Regions from separate parts of the Homo sapiens genome. Here all the other regions are linked to region 4. Evidence: promoter capture Hi-C in 16 types of primary human blood cells and fetal thymus (Javierre and others, 2016). All regions are on one chromosome and are shown on one strand. The core of a region is centred on a gene start or on the middle of the fragment in contact, and the rest is flanking DNA. Distances in the headings are between cores, read along the strand shown. Region 1 has its middle 29 kb from the start of TRA2B. Region 2 has its middle 46 kb from the start of TRA2B. Region 3 has its middle 7.8 kb from the start of TRA2B. Region 4 holds the start of RFC4 (replication factor C subunit 4). Region 5 overlaps ETV5 (ETS variant transcription factor 5).

Region 1 (2,709 bases), core at 91-2,590, 900 kb after region 4:
GATCTTTAAAAAGTCAGGAAACAAAGGTGCTGAAGAGGATGTGGAGAAATAGGAACACTTTTACACTGTTGGTGGGACTGTAAACTAGTTCAACCATTGTGGAAGAGTGTGGTAATTCCTCAAGGATCTAGAATTAGAAATACCATTTGACCCCGCCATCCCATTACTGTATATACCCAAAGGATTATAAATCATGCTGCTATAAAGACACATGTACATGTATGTTTATTGTAGTACTATTCACAACAGCAAAGACTTGGAACCAACCCAAATGTCCATCAATGATAGACTGGATTAAGAAAATGTGGCACATATACACCATGGAATACTATGCAGCCATAAAAACGGATGAGTTCATGTTCTCTGTAGGGACATGCATGAAGCTAGAAACCATCATTCTCAGCAAACTATTGCAAGGACAAAAAACCACCACACGTTCTCACTCATAGGTGGGAACTGAACAATGAGAACACTTGGACACAGGAAGGGGAACATCATACACCGGGGCCTGTCATGGGGTTGGGGGAGGGTGGAGGGGTAGCATTAGGAGATATACGTAATGTAAATGAGTTAATGGATGCAGTACACCAACATGGAACATATATACATATGTAACAAACCTGCACGTTGTGCACATGTACCCTAGAACTTAAATAAATAAAAAAAAAATACACTTGTCTAGAAGACAGGAGACTTCATTATATTACTCTCTTTACAATTAATTAATGTAAGACCGTTTAAAATATGCCTAATTTTCCAGGCATTGGTTTGCTTTTCTATAAAATGGGAGGATAGAAAATAACTTCCAAATTCTTACAAATCTAAGAATCTTTGGATTTAGATATGGAAATTCATAATTATTGAGATGGAGTCTCGTTACTATGCAATATAGCAAAGTTGGAAATAAATTCTAAATTTTATTTCATTTATATTGATCAATAAATTGTTACATTTCAAAAAAATGCAAGAGGCATTTGGAAAAAAGGACAAATAGGAATTTGTGAAAGACTATGGGAGTTAATGGGAAAGGAAGAGTTGCTGACTGCGAGCCTGGGCTCCTGGCCGCTCGCAGTGGCCCTGTTAAAAATGAGAAGAAAGAAAGAAGTTGGTTTGAGGGAGAAGATTTGCCCTTGACTTTACCTTTGTTGAGCTTTATAGAAGTTACTGGTGATAGCTGAAGCCTCTAATCCCAGTACTTTGGAAGGCTGAGGCAGGCGGATCACTTGAGGCCAGGAGTTCGAGACCAGCCTGGCCAACATGGTGAAACCCCATCTCTACTAAAGTACAAAAAAGAAACCTAGCAGGGCGTGGTGGTGCGTGCCTGTAGTCCCAGCTACTCGGGAGGCTGAGGCAGGAGAATCACTTGAACCTGGGAGGCGGGGTTTGCAGTGAGCCAGATCATGCCACTGCACCCCAGCCTGGGAGACAGAGCAAGATTCTGTCTCAAAAAAATAATAAATAAGTAAAAGTTAAACATAGAATTACCATACAACTCAGCAATTCTACTCCTGGGTTTATACCCAAAAAATCGTAAACATAGGTTCACACAAAAATTTGTACGTGGATGTTCATAGCAGCATTATTAGTGATAGCCGAAAAACAGAAACACCCCAAATGTTCCTTCAGCTGATGAATTGATTAATAAAATGTGATATATCCGGGCCGGGCGCGGTGGCTCACGCCCGTAATCACAGCACTTTAGGAGGATGAGACGGGCGGATCACAAGGCCAGGAGATCGAGACCATCCTGGCTAACATGGTGAAACCCCGTCTCTACTAAAAATACAGAAAATTAGCCGGGTGCGGTGGCGGGCGCCTGTAGTCCCAGCTACTCCAAAGGCTGAGGCAGGAGAATGGCGTGAACCTGGGAGGCAGAGCTTGCAGTGAGCCGAGATCGCGCCACTGCACTCCGGACTGGGCGACAGAGCGAGACTCCGTCTCAATAAATAAATAAATAAATAAATAAATAAATAAATAAAGTGATATATCTATACAATGGAATATTATTTGGCAATAAAAAGGAATGAAGTAATGATACATGCTGACATGAATGAACCTTCAAAACATTTTAAGTGAAAGGAACCAGTCACAAAAGACCATATATTACATGATTTAATATATATGAAATATGCAGAACAGAGAGTTCTATGCAGAGAAAGTAGACTAGTAGTTTCCTAGGCACGGCAATTTGCAGGAGGAAGGGGAAGTGACTGCTAATAGGTATGGCAGTCACTTTGGGCCTGAGGAAAAATATTCTAAAACTGATTGTAGTGATGGTCACTTAACTTTGTAAATATACTAAAAGCGATGGAATTTTGCACTTTAAGCAGACGGATTTCATCTTAATAAAGCTGTTAAGCACTTCCAGTCACCTAAAAACACTATTAAGAGAGTAGGGCCAGGAGTGGTGGCTGACACCTGTAATCCTAGCACTTTGGAAGGCTGAGGCAGGAGGATCCCTTGAGCCCAGTAGTTCGAGACCAGCCTGGGCAATATAAGGAAACTCTGTCTTTTAAAAGAAAGAAATAGGCTGGGCGTGGTGGCTCATGCCTGCAATCCCAGCACTTTGGGAGGCCGAGGTGGGCGGATCACTTGAGATCAGGAGTTCAAGACCACCCTGGCCAACATGGTGAAACCCTGTCTCTACTAAAAATACAAAAATTAGCCGGGTGTGGTGGTATACACCTGTAGTCCCAGCTACTCAGGAGG
Region 2 (2,700 bases), core at 93-2,592, 820 kb after region 4:
TGCTAGTTCTAAAGAATTTACAGTTTAAAGGAATTTTTAAACTTCAATAATTTAATTATCCATTTCTTAAATGCTGAACATTTTGCTTACTTCTATATTTTTGCTCTCATGAAAAAATACTTTCATATAAAATCCTCAAAATTATATTTTTATCTATATTTGTGTTTATTTACTTAAGATGGTTTCTTAGGAGTTTTGCCAAGTAAAGGGTGTGTACATTTTTAATCCTCTTGCAACACTCAGCGGGGCAGCCCGTCAGAAATGCTATAGCAGCCAAGGTGCAGTGGCTCGCGTCTGTAGTCCCAGCACTTTGGGAGGACGAGGCAGGCGGATCATGAAGTCAGGAGTTCAAGACCAGCCTGGCCACCATGGTGAAACCCCGTCTCTACTAAAAATACAAAAATTAGCCAGACGTGGTGGCGGGGCGCCTGTAATCCCAGCTACTCAGGAAGCTGAGGCAGGAGAATCACTTGAACCGGGAGGCGGAGGTTGCAGTGAGCCGAGATCGCGCCACTGCACTCCAGCCTGGGTGACAGAGCAAGACTCTATCTCAAAAAAAAAAGAAAAGAAAGAGAGAGAAAGAGAAGAAAGAAAGAGAGAGAGAGAGAGAAGAAAGAAAGAAAGAAAAAAAAGAGAGAGAGGGAGGGAGGAAGGAAGGAAGGAAGGAAGGAAGGAAGGAAGGAAGGAAGGAAGGAAGGAAGGAAGGAGAAAGAAATGCTATAGCAACTTCTACTCGAGATGGTTTAAAATTCATGTTATTGCCTTCCTGCTCACTCCTATGAGGAGTCCAAGTCAGGACTACATTGCCAGAGTGTTCTGCTCTGTTACTTGGGAGAATGGACAGTGCCTGAGGGCCGTTCAATACGCACTTCCTAACAGTGCCCCAGTTTCCTTTTAGTGAATTGTCTCTGCCCCTTGTGTAGTCTTGATGGGATTTCAGAGTTGCAAAGGTCCCTTGGGTTGGGGAGAGGATGACAAGCAGTGTGGCCAGCGGAGAAGCCAGCAGCAGGAGCACCAGCATCCAGCAAGGCTCGGCCCCGGCTGCCAGGCGGAGAAAGGGCAGGCCCTGTGCTCTGCACTCCTGGAGCAGGGTCTGAGACCCCTCTATGCAGAAGGCTCACCCTTAGCCTGAGGGCCTTCCTCTGCATGGGGCGAGCCAGTGCTGGAGTCTTTGGATAATCCCTTGGTCCTCCCTTTCCTTCCCTTAATCTCAAATCCGGCACGGAGAAGGCACTTCACCCCAGAGAAGGTGACCAGCGCATGTCTGTCGAAATGGCCACGGAGGGTAACCGACAAGGCTTTAAGATGCGCCGTATAACTATCTCCTTTGGCTTTATTCCCCAAAAAAGCCCGGGGAAAAAATCACCTGGGATGAGGCTGGAGCGATCCTTTCTTATGCTGGACTCATACTGCCATCTAGTGGTGGGAGAAGGAAGCTGGGAAGGGACGGGACACCGGGCAGCGGGCGGTTAGAGCAAGATGAACCTGCAGTCCAGGAGGCCAAGGTCAGGCGACACTGGGAACCGCCCAGGGGGCACTTCAGAATTTTGGGAGGCATATGAAGGAGGCAAGGGGAGGAATTATGCTCAACAATAATTATAGCTGTTTTTTTGCCGGGCGCCGTGGCTCATGCCTGTAATTCCAACACTTTGGGAAGCCGAGGAGGGCAGATCACCTAAGGTCAGTAGTTCGAGACCAGCCTGACCAACATGGAGAAACCCTGTCTCCACCAAAAATACAAAATTAGCTGGGCGTGGCAGCGCGCGCCTGCAATCCCAGCTATTCGGGAGGCTGAGACAAGAGAGAATCGCTTGAACCCGGGAGGCGGAGGTTGCAGTGAGCCAAGATTGCACCATTGCACTCCAGCCTGGACAACAAGAGCCTCTGTCTCAAAAAAAAAAAAAAAAAAAAAAAAAAAAGAGAGAGAGAGAGAGAGAGAAGAGAGAATAATTACAGCTGTTTCTTGAGCACTTACTACCTGGCAAAGACTATACAAAGTGCCTCTCATGCTTTCAATCTTTCAGTCCCCCCAGCAGTCCCCAGTGAGGATGGGGAGACCAAGCCTAGAAATCAAGTAACTTGACCAAGTTCACACAACTTGTCAGTGGCAGAGGCAATCAAATCCAGGATTATCTGACTTTGTAGCTTGAATTTCTAGGGTCATTTCTGGAATCACGGAGAGAGATCTTCTGCATCCTTTCTATTCCATCGCCCACACCCCCAACCCTAATCTACTCCTGGACAACAAAGGGTGCTCTTGTTCACTGAGATGCACGGCCCTATTTCCACCTTCTGTGCCTCTCTTGGGTCCCCAAGTCTCTACCTGAACAACTGCAAAGGGAATCCTTTCCCTCCTTTGGCCTGGAGACTGTTGGGCAGGACTGGGAGAGGATAGTGGGTGGAATCTTTTGTCCACTGTCAACAAATATTAAAATGTCTCAGACTAGTTGGAAGTTATTTTCCCTTCTTTGTTATGTGAGATTGAGGTCCCTAAAGTGCACAGTCTCATTTCAGATCAGCCACTGCAAAGTTTGGTTCTAAATCCTGGAAGGACTTCTCATGCTTTCCAGGAACAATTGTTGGGACTGATCCATGACAGCCCTGGCCTGTCTCAGTCTTCTTTTTTTTCTTTTCTTTCTTCCTTTTTTTTTTTTAAGAGATGAGGAAGTCCGGGCATCGTGGCTCATGCCTGTAATCCCA
Region 3 (2,700 bases), core at 3-2,502, 860 kb after region 4:
AACCCATTCTCCATCCAATGGGGAATGTAATCTTATAAAAATAAAAACTGAGTCAAGACATTCCCCCTAATTAAAACATTTCGATAGCTTCCCATTGCATTTATTTAATTATTTATTTATTTTTGAGGCAAAGTCTCACTCTATTGCCCAGGCTGGAGTGCAGTGGCACGATCTTGGCTAACTGCAACCTCTGCCTCCCGGGTTCAAGAGATTCTCCTGCCTCAGCTTTCCGAGTAGCTGGGGTTACAGGTGCCTGCCACCACGCCTGGCTAATTTTTGTATTTTTTTAATAGAGGCGGGGTTTCGCCATGTTGGCCAGGCTGGTCTCGAACTCCTGACTTCAAGTGACCCATCCACCTGCCTTGGCCTCCCAAAGTGCTGGAATTACAGGTGTGAACCACCGTGCCCAGCCCCCACTGCACTTAAATAACATCTGACATCCTTTCCATGACCTGCATAATCACTGCTGACTTATTATGAGTTAGACATTGTTCTAAGGGCTTTTTATGTAAAATAGTAATTCTTTGGATCCTGACAACAAGCATAGGAAGTAGGTATTATTATCATTCCTATTTCACAGATGAAGCCACAGAGGCACAGAGGTTACACTTGCCCAGGGTCTCTCAGAGAGCTACTGTGGAGGCAGGAAACAACCCCAGGAAGTCCAAGCCCTGCTCTCTGTACCACAGTCTCTGGTCCTCAGATGGACCCACTGGGATCCCATGGTTGGGTCTCTCTGTTCCTGGAACCCGACAAACATCCTCACCCCAGTGCCTTTGTGACCTTGCTAATCCCTTCCCAGGAACACAGTTTTCTCTGCTTTTTAAATGGCTGGCTTCTCACCCTCCAGGTCTCCATAAATAGGAATGGTATAATAGGTTATGGCACATATTTGCAACGGAATACCATACAACTGTTTTAAAATATGAGATAAATCTATGTGTACTGACGTGGAACAATATTTAGCATATTTTAGATTGCTAAGTGAAAAAGGCAAGTTACAGAATACCATGTTAAAATTTAAAAATATGAGCGGGGCATGGTGGCTCATGCCTGCAATCCCAGCACTTTGGGATGCTGAGGCGGGTGGGTCACCTGAAGTCAGGAGTTCGAGACAACAGCCTGAGCAACAGAGTGAGACTCTGTCTCAAAAAAATAATAAATAAAAATTAAAAAATAAAAAATATGTATAGCATGATTCCATTTGTTTATGAAAAGAAAATTTTAAGGCTGGGCTCAGTGGCTCATGCCTGTAATCCCAGCACTTTGGGAGGCCGAGGCGGGTGGATCGTGAGGTCAGGAGATCGAGACCATCCTGGCTAGCATGGTGAAACCCCATCTCTACCAAAAATACAAAAAATTAGCCGGGTGTGGTGGCAGGCACCTGTAGTCCCAGCTACTTGGGAGGCTGAGGCAGGAGAATGGCATGAACCCGGGAGGCGGAGCTTGCAGTGAGCCGAGATCTTGCCACTGCACTCCAGCCTGGGAGACAGCAAGACTCCGTCTCAAAATAAATAAATAAATAATAAAAAAATAAAAATAAAAATTTAAATTTATCTATCTAAGGTCTAGAAGGTTATGCACTACATTTTTTAACTAGGGTGACCTCTGAGGAGCGAGACTGGGAAAGAGAGGATAGAAAATAGGGTTTGCATTTTTCACTTTGCACATTTCTTATTGTTTGAATTTTTATCCCCACCCTATATTAGTAACATAATAATAATTCTAAGACAAAACATTTTCTTCATATGTTTAATGTTTGAGCTCTAAATTTTGTTATTTGGGTATTCTAATTTTTATTCTCTTCCTCTCTTTCCCAGATTTATCTTAAGTATCTGGAGAAAGTCTTTTATTTCATTCTTCTCTCTCTCTCTTTTTTTTTTTATTTTTTTGAGAAGGAGTCTTGCTTTGTCGCCCAGGCCGGACTGCAGTGGCGCTATCTCGGCTCACTGCAAGCTCCGCCTCCCGGGTTCATGCCATTCTCCTGCCTCAGCCTCCTGAGTAGCTGGGATTACAGGTGCCCGCCACGGCGCCCGGCTAATTTTTTGTATTTTTAGTAGAGACGGGGTTTCACCGAGTTAGCCAAGATGGTCTCGATCTCCTGACCTCATGATCCGCCCACCTCGGCCTCCCAAAGTGCTGGGATTACAGGTGTGAGCCACCGCACCCGGCCTCTCTCTCTTTTTTTTTTTTTTTTTTTTTTTTTTTGAGACAGAGTTTCACTCTTGTCACCCAGGCCGGAGTGTAATGGTACGATGTCTGCTCACTGCAACCTCTGCCTCCCAGGTTCAAGTGATTCTCATGCCTTGGCCTCCCGAGTAGCTGGGATTACAGGCATGCACCACCACGCCCGGCTAATTTTTGTATTTTTTAGTAAAGACAGTGTTTCACAATGTTAGCCAGACTGGTCTCGAACTCCTGACCTTAGGTGATCCACCTTTTTTAGGGTTCAGAACATTGAAAGTGATTGGTTGTTTCAACTCAATTATCTACAATACGTAGCCATAGTCAGCATAGTAACTCAATGTTGTTCTTAATTTCCACTCAGTCCTAAGCTGGTTCGTGAAGACCTGCCTTAATGAAGTCTCAAAGTTTTTGACTTCCACATTCATACTTCCAAGTAGTGAGTGGGTGTTCAGTCACTTTTTATACAGAGATGCATTAGTTCTCTGAGAGCACTCCTACACCACTCCCTTGAAG
Region 4 (2,700 bases), core at 28-2,527:
TTTCATAGATCTTGTTTTATCAACTGTATTGTGGTATAATTTACATACAATAAAATATACAAGCATTAAGTATACAGTTTGATAAGTTATGGTAATGTAAACCGGTGACCAGATAGATAACCTGTGTGTTTTTTATACTGTCCAGAGATTGTATCAGACTCTGTGGAAATTACAAAGTAGCATAAAGCATCCTTACTTTGGTTAAACCCTTGATTGGGTTAGGCCTGGGATGTAAGTTCTCACAGCCCCCTACTTCCTCTGCATAACCACACATCACATTGTCTGTCACTCTCCTAGTCTGTAAAGCTACTTGAGGGCATCTCGAGCGTTTTCCCTGCTGTATCTGCAGGCATCTAACACAGTGCGTGGACATTCTGTAAGCATTTGTTGCAAGATAAATGAAAAAAACGTACAAAGTTAACAATGGATATCATGCTGAGTTTGTGCCAAACAAAACAGTCATTTGAAGAAGACCCGGAACAACCTTATGGGTTAGTAATTAGTAAAGACCAGTAGAGAAGGTGGCCTTTGAGAAGGGTCAGGTTTCAATAGGATTAAGGAGCATTTCAGAGCTAAACCAAGTACTTGGAAGAGATAAAAGCAGTGGGCTCAGGCACCAGCCTAGCCCACTGTGCATGAAGCTTGGTGGGGCTAAACATGATTATCAGTCCTTTAACTTTTATTGAACGCCTTCACTTCCAGATTTCTAAGTGGGGCTCAGGAATTATAATAGATGTCCACAGCTGCATGGTCTTCTCTCTCCACAACACGCAGACACTATTAGAAGTAAAAGCCACGTGTCCTCAAGAGGGCAAGGCAAAGCATCTTCAGATGTCTCTGCCCTTAAAGCACACGCGTTCTGCTCTGCGACGAAGCAGGACAAGGAGGACAGGGACCTGCACCTCCGGAGGCCCGCACCTACGAAGATAGCGGGCTCGGGACCTTCGGTGGACCGGCAGGGTTCCAGAGGCCCGCGCGCCGCCGCCCCGCCCTCATTGCTGAGCCTGCCAGGTAAGCAGCCCCAGCGCCGTGCCCGCGCGACCTCTACTCCTTCCGGGAGGGTCGCGCTCACGTCTGAAGTGGGAGCAATGCACCGGGACAGGGACACCTCCTAGGCCATGCCTGTTCCAGTCCAGTTCTGCCTGAAAGTCCGGCTGGCTCATCACCTGCCTAAATAAAACCGTATACGGGCAAACTCCCTCCGCAAGCAGCGCGCCCCAGCACCGGAAGTGACGCGTTACGTGCCCGCGTATTCCTACCGGCGTATTCCCGCCCTGCTTTTCGCCCGCCGTTCCGTGGCGGGAACTGAGGCGACTGTGGGGACATCAGTGATCGTAAGTCTCCTGGGCCCGTTATTCTCAGATTAGGTGACGGAGCTAAGACTTCGAGACCATCTCGTCCTTTTTGTATCGCGGAAACCTGAGGAACGAGCCGGCGGCGGTGACCTGCACGAGAAGCCAGGCTAACTGGTAACCTGCTGGAGGAACTGCAAGCCCGCTTCGCCTTCCCCACTCCTGCCCTTGATGCCCCTTGTGAGGTCTTCCACCTCCTTCGGGGCCCCAGCCTAGTGGCCCTTTCATGCCCTGGCCGCGCCCTTTGGTGAAATGGTGGTTCCGGACAGCATCTTGCAGGCCCCGGCTTTGGGCTGTATTAATGTTTAACAGCCCGAGGCAGGGATGGACTAATCCAGTAACGTTATAAAAACCTTGGCTGCTAACAGATATTAAAAATTTATTTTATTGAGCATATCCCCATATGCCAAGCAAGGAACTATGTATTTGCATACATTCTTTTATTTAACTCAGTTGTCCTGTGGAATAGGCCTTAGCTCCTTTAACAGAAAAGGAAACCGGGTATCATAGATGGTAATTCATTCACCAAATATTACGGAGCATCTACCATGTACCAGGCACTGTTCTAGGCACCAGGGCATGTAGCAGTGAAAAAAATAGAATTAACCGGGGACTTTTCAGGCGAGCTAATGATGCTTTTTATCCCTGAAAACAGCCTGGAAGAATGTTTACCTGCATGTTAGAAATAGTTACCTTCTGGGTGGGATTTTGTATTACTTTTTTAAATCTCTCATGCTTTTATGCATTGTTTTGATTTCTTCAAGTGAGTGTGTTATGAGAAAAACAGCTGTTTCTATTTTAACAACAGAGTCCCCCACCTTCCCTTCCCCACAGAAAGTCTCTGAAGGTAGGTAAGCATTGACTCTGCCATGAAAATAGGTCCCTGGCCAGGCGAGATGGCTCACACCTGTAATCCCAGCACTTTGGGAGGCCGGGGCAGGAGGATTACTTGAGCCCAGGAGTTCCAGACCAGCCTAGGCAACATGGTGAAACCCTGTCTCTACCAAAAATTTAAAAAATTAGCCGGGGGTGGTGGCACGCACCTGTAGTCCTAGCTACTGGGGAGGCTGAAGTGGGAAGATGACAGGAGCCTGGGATGTCAAGGCTGCAGTGAACCATGATTCCGCCACTGCACTCCATCCTAGGCAAAAGAGTGAGACCCTGTCTCAAAAACAACAACAACAAAAAAAGGTCTTTGAGTTCTGACCCAAGGAAAGGAGTGAAGGTTCTCATTTGTGGTGCAAGCAGAGCACCTTTAATTGCCGAAGAGTCCATTTCAGGGTCTGAGCTAGAGCTAGGCCCATGACTGTGAAAGAAACCATGGAGGCCCATGTGGTTTGGTCATTAG
Region 5 (2,700 bases), core at 46-2,545, 700 kb after region 4:
TCGGAGCGGTTCGGCCCAGCCTTTCGCCCAGGCGCCCAGGCCCGCTGCGCGCGTGCGTGAGCGCGCCTGCGCCGCCGGGGCCGCTGCAAGGGGAGGAGAGAGGCCGCCTCAGGTGAGGGGGCTTTGCGGGGGCAGGGGGGAGATCGGAAGGGGCGTCCGGCCACTGGTCCGACAGGCCCAGCCGGCTAGAGTTCACGGGCTGATTCAGAATCTTCAAAGTCGGGGTGCAGTAGCTGGGGTGACCCCCCCCGGGTTGACCGCCCCCTCCCCCCGCGGCCCGGTCCGGTTTGGTTCCTGGGAGGCGTCGGGCGGGTGCGGCTAACGGTTCCGGAGCGCGGGGAGAGCGGCTTTCCACACGTCGTGGGGGAGGCGCCCCGGAGCGCGAGTGCGGGGGCTCCCGAGTGGATGGGGGATCGCGGAGTTGCGAGGCTTTCACAGTCTCTGGAGATTCGAGAGCCCCGAGGGGACTTGGAGGCTCGCGAGAAGAGACGCTTGGCGGAGCTCCGCAGTTGGGAGGAGGGGGCGGGAAGCAGTTTGAGGGGAATGTCTGAGAGGCGCTGCCCCCCAGAGCACCGGGAGGGGGTAAATGACACAGGCAAGTGCAGCCTGCGGGGGCGGGGGTCGACCAGGAACTTACGCAGGCCTTGCAAGTTTCAGGTGGTGGAAAGTGGACATCCAGTCGCCCTGCTCCCACCCAGCAGGCTGAGGGCGTCCGGCTGTGCGGCGACTCGAGAAAATCGGGGCGCACCGGAACAGCGGCCTGGGGATGGTGGGGATAACACGGGTGTGGAGGGGACAGCACCGAAAGATGCTGCAGCCTCGCAGCGGATTAGGGTTCCGGCCGCATTTTCAGAGGGTGGAGAAAACTCGGGGGGGAACCGAACTCCTGGTCGACGAGGGGGTGCCAGGGAGAGATGTTGGGGGTGGGGGGATTGGAAGCGGTTGGTAGCGCCGGGCGCCGCACCTCGTTTTTATGAATGTGGGTGACTTTATGAATGAAGCGGGTTTCTTTCGTTGGCTCGCTGCTCCCTGCGGCTTTTTTTTTTTTCTTCCCTTTTTGTGAATGAAGCATTGAGCTTTCTTCCTAAAACGCTGGGGTGAGGGGCCTGCGTCGGAGGCTGGGCGTGCGTTGGAAATGGGGGCGGGGGCGCAGCTGAAGGAGTTTTCATGAATGGGGAAGGCTGAGAATTGGGTGGAAGTGTGTCTTGTTTTGTGAATGGGGCCCAGCGCTAGAGATCCAGTTACAGCCTCTACCTGATGTGGCGGCCGCGGCTCGCTCTCCCATTCATAAAACCGGGCCCGCTGCGCGCCACAGGGGAGGGGCCTGGATCGCGCCGCTGCGCTGTGCTAAAGTTTTCCTGGGGGCGCCCGGGGCGCGGGTGGTGGGGGGGCAAAGGAAGTGGTTTAAACTCCTGGATGAACTCGAGCCTTTCCTTCAGGCTTTTAAAAAAATTATACTTGGAATACAATTTTTCTAACCCTGGAATGCCTCTTTTCCGTTCGTTTATGGCAGTTTATTTCTTTTAATTTTTTAGAATTTTTTTTGCTCTTCCGGGTGAAGTATTTCATCATGAGACTGAAAAATATCTCCCCCTCCCGTCTTCTACTGGTTGTCCCCTTCCTCCTAACACATTCACAAAATGTCTTAGGCCATGATTTAATCTGACAGATTTTCCTAAGCGACAGAGCACTCTCTCTTTCATGCCCCTCAACTCACTGCTGAGGTTTCTCAGATTTTGTATACGGTTTGGTGGCATTTGAGAGAGGCGTTATTCTGAACATTTCTTGTGGTGTTTGGACGGGGCACGCAGGCAGGCTGGCGCGAGTGTTTTTCTAGGAAGTTATGAACTGTGTGCTATTTTGCTCCTCTCTTTCCTTTGACTTTGAAAATATCTGATTCCTTGGGCCAAAGTGCTGCGGAGGATGCTGGCTGTGAAGGGTGTCCTTGTATCCTGCCCACTTATGAAAAATTTGATATGCTACACACAGTGTGAAAAACAAATTGGATGGAATTGCTCACCGGGGGAAAAGTTTCCTGTTTAAAATTGTGTATATGTCAAACAAAAGAAGTTGACCTTTAAGCATTTTGAATTGCTTAGAGCTGGAGTGAGTGAAATTAATGTTTTTCCACCTTTTGTTGACTTAACGGTGTTTTTATTTGAAGAATAAAAGTGTTTAGGAAGATGGTACCTCCCTGAAATTGTTACTTTATTCCACTCACGTTAGGAGAAGTTTTCTCCCTTCTAACCCCACCCTTTTTCCCCAGACTCACACACTTACCCGTCCTGAAATGAGTTTCATTTGGGGGTGGGGGGGTATGTCTAGAAAAAAATGATTCCGCTATATGAAACAGCCTAAGTTTTAAAAGACCTTTGGTAGAGATGCATTGTACCACATGCAATGGAATTAGTTTTTTTAATCCATTACTTTTCATAGACATTTTACTCTTTTAGAAGTTGGAGATGTCACAAATATCTCTGTAAGTAACCAGGGAGATATTTGTGACATTACAGATGCTATATCTGTTTAGTCCTCTTTTAAATAAAGAGTTGTGTGTGAAGATAAGTATACCTCTGATCAATTTATTCCAGGAACTATATATAGTGTTTTAACAGTGACCTACAAAATGCTTTTGGAAACACCATGTATGTCAGATCTTTAATTGCCAATAATTTGGAATACTTAAACCCAGTTTCTCTG

What was found. The method cuts DNA at HindIII sites, captures the fragments that hold promoters and counts their contacts. A CHiCAGO score of 5 or more calls a contact.
Region 1: a contact is called between a fragment that was not itself captured here and the fragment with the promoter of RFC4 in region 4, in 2 of 17 cell types (naive CD8 T cells and total CD4 T cells). The highest score is 8.7, in naive CD8 T cells.
Region 2: a fragment that was not itself captured here is called in contact with the fragment with the promoter of RFC4 in region 4 in 3 of 17 cell types (total B cells, activated CD4 T cells and naive B cells); the score reaches 6.9 in total B cells.
Region 3: a fragment that was not itself captured here is called in contact with the fragment with the promoter of RFC4 in region 4 in 11 of 17 cell types (naive CD8 T cells, non-activated CD4 T cells, total B cells and 8 more); the score reaches 9.5 in naive CD8 T cells.
Region 5: a fragment that was not itself captured here is called in contact with the fragment with the promoter of RFC4 in region 4 in 3 of 17 cell types (endothelial precursors, fetal thymus and erythroblasts); the score reaches 8.0 in endothelial precursors.

Annotation. Positions count from the first base shown.
Region 1 is chr3:185,907,742-185,910,450 of GRCh38, reverse strand. No RefSeq gene overlaps it. Among named protein-coding and RNA genes, the nearest start is that of TRA2B, 29 kb to the left of the region's middle. The HindIII fragment of the contact is 3,858 bases long and covers 1-2,709 here.
Region 2 is chr3:185,982,417-185,985,116 of GRCh38, reverse strand. No RefSeq gene overlaps it. Among named protein-coding and RNA genes, the nearest start is that of TRA2B, 46 kb to the right of the region's middle. RefSeq lists an enhancer at 1,052-1,573. The HindIII fragment of the contact is 7,977 bases long and covers 1-2,700 here.
Region 3 is chr3:185,944,437-185,947,136 of GRCh38, reverse strand. No RefSeq gene overlaps it. Among named protein-coding and RNA genes, the nearest start is that of TRA2B, 7.8 kb to the right of the region's middle. The HindIII fragment of the contact is 4,953 bases long and covers 1-2,700 here.
Region 4 is chr3:186,805,059-186,807,758 of GRCh38, reverse strand. It overlaps RFC4 (replication factor C subunit 4), which reads left to right and starts at 1,277. Exons shown (of 11, transcript NM_002916.5): 1 at 1,277-1,469. RefSeq lists enhancers at 498-1,109, 1,110-1,721. The HindIII fragment of the contact is 2,364 bases long and covers 644-2,700 here.
Region 5 is chr3:186,106,352-186,109,051 of GRCh38, reverse strand. It overlaps ETV5 (ETS variant transcription factor 5), which reads left to right. Exons shown (of 13, transcript NM_004454.3): 1 at 1-112. Among named protein-coding and RNA genes, the nearest start is that of ETV5, 1.4 kb to the left of the region's middle. RefSeq lists silencers at 1-280, 311-410 and enhancers at 1-422, 1,181-1,240. The HindIII fragment of the contact is 3,357 bases long and covers 1-2,700 here.